Regions from separate parts of the Homo sapiens genome. Here region 1 is linked to region 2. Evidence: promoter capture Hi-C in human tissues and cell types (Jung and others, 2019). All regions are on one chromosome and are shown on one strand. Each heading gives the region's core, a stretch centred on a gene start or on the middle of the fragment in contact. The rest is flanking DNA. Distances are from core to core; before and after follow the strand shown.

The links. The method cuts DNA at HindIII sites, captures the fragments that hold promoters and counts their contacts. A contact is called where the count stands out against the background at its distance.
Region 1: a fragment that was not itself captured here is called in contact with the fragment with the promoter of CXCL9 in region 2 in 1 of the 25 tissues and cell types used here (mesenchymal stem cells).

The regions. Positions count from the first base shown.
Region 1 is chr4:76,048,397-76,051,231 of GRCh38, forward strand. It overlaps a transcript of ART3 not described here. Among named protein-coding and RNA genes, the nearest start is that of CXCL11, 14 kb to the left of the region's middle. The HindIII fragment of the contact is 3,429 bases long and covers 1-2,835 here.
Region 2 is chr4:76,005,632-76,008,768 of GRCh38, forward strand. It overlaps CXCL9 (C-X-C motif chemokine ligand 9), which reads right to left and starts at 1,878. Exons shown (of 4, transcript NM_002416.3): 1 at 1,755-1,878; 2 at 517-643. The coding sequence starts at 1,818. It overlaps SDAD1-AS1 (SDAD1 antisense RNA 1), which reads left to right. Exons shown (of 3, transcript NR_125906.1): 3 at 1-311. The HindIII fragment of the contact is 7,232 bases long and covers 1-2,589 here.

The DNA of each region.
Region 1 (2,835 bases), core at 278-2,777, 42 kb after region 2:
AGGGTTAGTGGGTCAAATTGGTCCCAATGGCTTAGGATGCATTTCAAGGGTGAGCCTGTTGATGCATGAGTGTTTCCCATCTGAAAGGCAAAACCACCCGTGGTTTTGGTTTATTTTGTTTCTCCCCCTGCCCAAGAACCCACAACGGTCCCTGGACCCTGCTGATTGGAATAGTTGCGCTCACCGATGCAGCAGCAGAAACAACCCCTGCCCAAGAACCCGCAACAGTCTCTGGACCCTGCTGATCAGAATAGTTGTGCTCACTGACGCAGCAGCGGAAACACTAGTTTTCCTCCCAGACCACATGGAGGACTGAGGAAGGTCGGATTTAGTGGTCCTTACCAATGCATTCTCGAAAACCTGCACCCTTGCCTGTCTTCCTAGACCACAAGGAGGACCGACCACAAAAAATCGGATTTAGTGGCCCTTATGATGCATTCTCAAAAACCTGTTAGAGTCCTAAGCATTCTCCTGTTAGTATTGGGACTTTACCCCTGTCCTATAAAGATCTTATGCCCCAAAAATGAAGTGGAGGGCCATACCCTGAGGGAGGGAAGGGATCTTCAGGGTTGGAAGAGTGACACCTTTTTCCTCACTTATATGAATAGGAAGGATACAATTTCTGAGGCTCCCCATATCCTAGCTTCAGGAATAGCTTTTGTTAGGCCTGTTAGTCTCAGGAGGGATCCTAAAATTCCAGGTAGTCCCCACTATGACGGGGCTTTGGGCAAAAATCATGTCTTTCTGATTGGTGAGCCTGGGTGCCTAAAGAAGGTAACAGAGTCCTGGAGTTTATACTATAAATCATTCTTATAGGAGAAACTAGAAAAGCACCAGGGACAGGTAGCAATTTTTAGAAGTGGGTCTAACCTCAGAGAAGACAGGCGAGAGGAAGTTTGTCTGGCAGGCATTAGGACCCAGGCGGCAAGGGTCAGGATAGATAGGATAGATGGGTGAGTCTTTCTTGGGCGACATGCTTTTGAGAGTGCCGCTCATGGCCGCAGGGTCAGCCAACATGTTGTCGGGACCTTGGAGCTGCATGGCTTTCCTCTCTGTCGACCCTCGGCTCAGCCCAGAAGTACAGGAAAAGCGGAAGCTGGTTCTAGGCAAACCAACGGTCCCAACTCCAAAGAGTCAGGGGTTGTTAGAGAGCCCTTTCCCAGACAGCCTGACACCCATGTCTTTAGTCCGGCAGCCTCACTAGTCTCTTTTAACTGGCCGACAGGTGCCCGGTATTTAGCCCCCGAAATTTTAAGGAAAAATAGGACAGAATAGCAAGCGAAAGGGGTCTGATGGTACTCACTGCTTGGCGATAGGCGATTGTCTCACCGCTCGGCGATAGGCGATGGTCTTACCGCTCGGCGATAGGCGAAAGTCCCTTCGTGGTTGCCAAGATGTGTCCGGAATTGGTGGGTTCTTGGTCTCGCTGACTTCAAGAATGAAGCCGCGGACCCTCACGGTGAGTGTTACAGCTCTTAAGGTGGCGCGTCTGGAGTTTGTTCCTTCTGATGTTTGGATGTGTTCGGAGTTTGTTCCTTCTGGTGGGTTCGTGGTCTCACTGGCTCAGGAGTGAAGCTGCAGACCTTAGCGGTGAGTGTTACAGCTCTTAAGGCGGCGCGTCTGGAGTTGTTCGTTCCTCCCGGTGGGCTTATGGTCTCACTGGCTCAGGAGTGAAGCTGCAGACTTTCGCGGTGAGTGTTACAGCTCATAAAAGCAGTGTGGACCCAAAGAGTGAGCAGCAGCAAGATTTATTGCAAAGAGTGAAAGAACAAAGCTTCCACAGTGTGGAAGGGGACCTGAGCGGGTTGCCACTGCTGGCTCGGGCAGCCTGCTTTTATTCTCTTATCTGGCCCCACCCACGTCCTGCTAATTGGTAGAGCTGAGTGGTCTGTTTTGACAGGGCGCTGATAGGTGGGTTTACAATCCCTGAGCTAGACACAAAGGTTCTCCACATCCCCACCAGATTAGCTAGATACAGAGTGTCGACACAAAGGTTCTCCAGGGCCCCACCAGAATAGCTAGATACGGAGTGTCAATTGGTGCATTCACAAACCCTGAGCTAGACACAGGGTGCTGATTGGTGTATTTACAAACCTTGAGCTAGATACAGAGGGCCGATTGGTGTATTTGCAATCCCTGAGCTAGACATAAAAGTTCTCCATGTTCCCACCAGACTCAGGAGCCCAGCTGGCTTCACGCAGTGGATCCCGCACCAGGGCTGCAGGTGGAGCTGCCTGCCAGTCCCGGTGCTGTGTGCCCGCACTCCTCAGCCCTTGGGTGGTCGATGGGACTGGGCACCGTGGAGCAGGGGGTGGCACTTGTCGCGGAGGCTCGGGCCACACAGGAGCCCATGGAGGGGGTGGGAGGCTCAGGCATGGCGGGCTGCAGGTCCTGAGCCCTGCCCCGCAGGAAGGCAGCTAAGGCCCGATGAGAAATGGAGCGCAGTGCCAGTGGGCTGGCACTGCTGGGGGACCCAGTACACCCTCCGCAGCTGCTAGCCCGGGTGCTAAGCCCCTCATTGCCTGGGGCCGGCAGGGCCGGCGGGCTGCTCCGAGTGCGGGGCCCGCCAAGCCCACGCCTACCCGGAACTCCAGCTGGCCTGCAAGCCCACGCGCAGCCCTGGTTCCCGCTGGCGCCTGTCCCTCCACACCTCCCTGCAAGCTGAGGGAGCCGGCTCCGGCCTTGGCCAGCCCAGAAAGGGGCTCCCACAGTGCAGCAGTGGGCTGAAGGGCTCCTCAAGTGCCGCCAAAGTGGGAGCCCAGGCAGAGGAGGTGCCGAGAGCAAGCGAGGGCTGTGAGGACTGCCAGCACACTGTCACCTCTCAAAAGTACAGTA
Region 2 (3,137 bases), core at 628-3,127:
AGTTTGGCCATTAAAAATGACATTAAGTAAAAATGACATTATTAGAGATTTACTGACACGAGAAAATGTTCATGATATAGTGTTAATGAAAAAGCAGATTACAAAACAGTGTATAGTATATGATTTAATTTTTGTGCTTATATACGTGTATGTAAAAACATATCTATGTTATGTGCACACGAAGCAAGTAAGGAAGATTTAGAAAACTGTATACTAAGGGGTTAACAGTATTTGTCACTCAAGGGTAGAATTATGCGTGATTTTTATTTTCTTCTATTGTGTTACCTGCATTAAACATTTTGTACAATAAACATGTGTCATTCTTGGGGCCTAATCTACCAGAAATTCCTTGCATTTTTAAGGAGAAGAAAAGAAAGGAGCTGCCCAAATTTATGGAGGGGGTAACCATCTGATTTTTAAGTGTTTGTATGGGCAAGCACTCCAAGGGTAAAACTCATGCTAAATTTAATGTTCTTGCCAATATGGTGCATGCATGTTAGCTGGGTTGTTACTTACATGATTTCAATTTTCTCGCAGGAAGGGCTTGGGGCAAATTGTTTAAGGTCTTTCAAGGATTGTAGGTGGATAGTCCCTTGGTTGGTGCTGATGCAGGAACAGCGACCCTTTCTCACTACTGGGGTTCCTGAGGGAAAGAAAAAGATAGAACACATCAGTATAGGCCAATGTTTCAGTTTAGGTGATCTATCAAAATGATACACTTGACTGAGTCATGATTATTGCTATCATTTACCGAGTGCCTAAAAATAATCACCACAAACCTTTGAAGGAGGTATCATCTCTATTTTATACATAAGGAAACTAAGGTTCAGAAAGATTAAGAACAAAGTCATACAGCTTTTAGGGAGCAGGGGCAGGGTTTTAGCCCAGATCTCTCTGAGTCCAAAGGCGTTGCTCTTAACTACCACACCGTAAGTCCGTGGGAGAAAAAGAGACTTTCACAATATTTAATAAATGCCTATCACAAGACAAACAGATAACTAATTCATGTATGCTATGCTGATCACAGTTTCTTAAGCAACTCCTAAACCATCTATTATTTATTATCTGACCTTAAGGAATGGAACTGGTGTTGGTGTTGAATAGAAAGCACTCCTTTGTAACCAATCACCACTTTCATCCTCATCCTCTCTCCTCCCCACTGCCTTGCTTTTCAATAGTGTTTTAAATTTTTGAAAACCCCTTAAAATACATTATCTTAATTCTTAAATTCATATATTTACTTGGTACTTATTGTACCATATGCCATACATTGTGTAGCAGTCAGAAAAGGTATAACTACAAAGTTCTATTTTACAGATGATGAGGAAACTGAGGTCTAGAAAGATTAAGTAATTTGTCCAAGGTAACAAAGATAGTTAGTAAATAGATTAGGGACAAATTCTCTGATTATTGGTTGGATCCTTAATTGGTTAGCCACAGATATACTTAGCAAAAAACAGTATCAGGGAGAAGAAAATAATTTAGGAGATAGAGTTCTCATTATTACCCAGTTCAATGAACATTTATTGAACACTTACTAGGAATTCATACACCTAGACTACAAAGACTTGTGTTTGACTTGGCAGATCGAAGTTATGAACTTTGGATAACTGGTCATGTCACTGAGAAGCTTTTATGACTGACCAAATATTACTCTTCAATGCAGGCAGAACATTCACCTTTATCTGGCTAATCAAGATTCTTTTACAGTGAATCACTTCTCTTACTTTACAACCTAACTCAGAACCCCTTACCTTGCACTCCAATCAGAACCAGCAAGATGATGCCCAAGAGGAAAAGAACACCACTTTTCTTCATAGTGATAGAATGGAGTTCCAAGTCACTCCTGTATTGGATTTTGAGCCTGAGAAATTCTTTAGAGAACACATTTTGGGGATCATATTTATTTAGGATATTCATTTCTCTCCTAAACTCTGATTGGCTAGTATCTTTAGCTGAGCTAACTAAATTGACCACAAACTTGATTGTGCTGGGGGAAACCCTAGTCTCAGATCCAAGGGAATTTCTGCATGTTTTTATTTCCATTTCACATAAATGGGTGGTTTATAGTAAGGGATGTGAAACTAGCAACACTGATAGCCTTTGGCACATTCACAGTTGCTCACCTGTGTGAAGAATAGGTTATATAATGAATATACTAATGTTATACAACAAAGGTTGGAGATGTGGTTTCCAGATGGGAAATATTAAAGTCCAGATAAATAATATACTTTTCAAATTCCCTTACTATTTATGGCATATTCTTCTGTATAATAGATGGCTACATTGATATTTTCTTATATTGCCCACTTAACAACTTAAAGCACCTTAATTTCCTCTGGGACCAGGTCATTTTCTACTAGTGGTAAGCTCATTCTGTATCATTCCTGCTACAGTATTATTTTTTAAACTAATAAATTGGTTAGAATAAGGGGTCAGTTGCATGTAAGAGACCCAAATTAACAGTGGCTAAGAAATGCAATAAAAATGAAGATAAATAGCTGGGACCTAATTAAAGAGCTTTTGCACAGCAAAAGGAACAGTCAGCAGAGTAAACAGACAACCCACAGAGTGGGAGAAAATCTTCACAATCTATATACCTGACAAAGGACTAATATCCAGAATCTAGAATGAATTCAAACAAATCATTAAGTAAAAAACAAACAATCCCATTAAAAAGTGGGCTAAGGACATCAATATACAATTCTCAAAAGAAGATACACGAATAGCCAACAAACATATGAAAAAATGCTCATCACTAATGATCAGGGAAATGCAAATCAAAACCACGGTGTGATACCACCTTACACCTGCAAGAATGGCCATAATCAAAAAATCAAAAAACAGCAGATGTTGGTGTGGACTTGGTGATCAGGGAACACTTCTACACTGCTGGTGGGAATGTAAACTAGCACAGCCGCTATGGAAAACAGTGTGGAGATTCCTTAAAGAACTAAAAAGCAGAATTACCATTTTATCCAGCAATCCCACTACTGGGTATCTACCCAGAGGAAAAGAAGTCATTATTTGAAAAATGTACTTGCACATGCATGTTTATAGCAGCACAATTCACAATTGCAAAATCATGGAACCAACCCAAATGCCCATCAATCAATGAGTGAATAAAGAAACTGTGG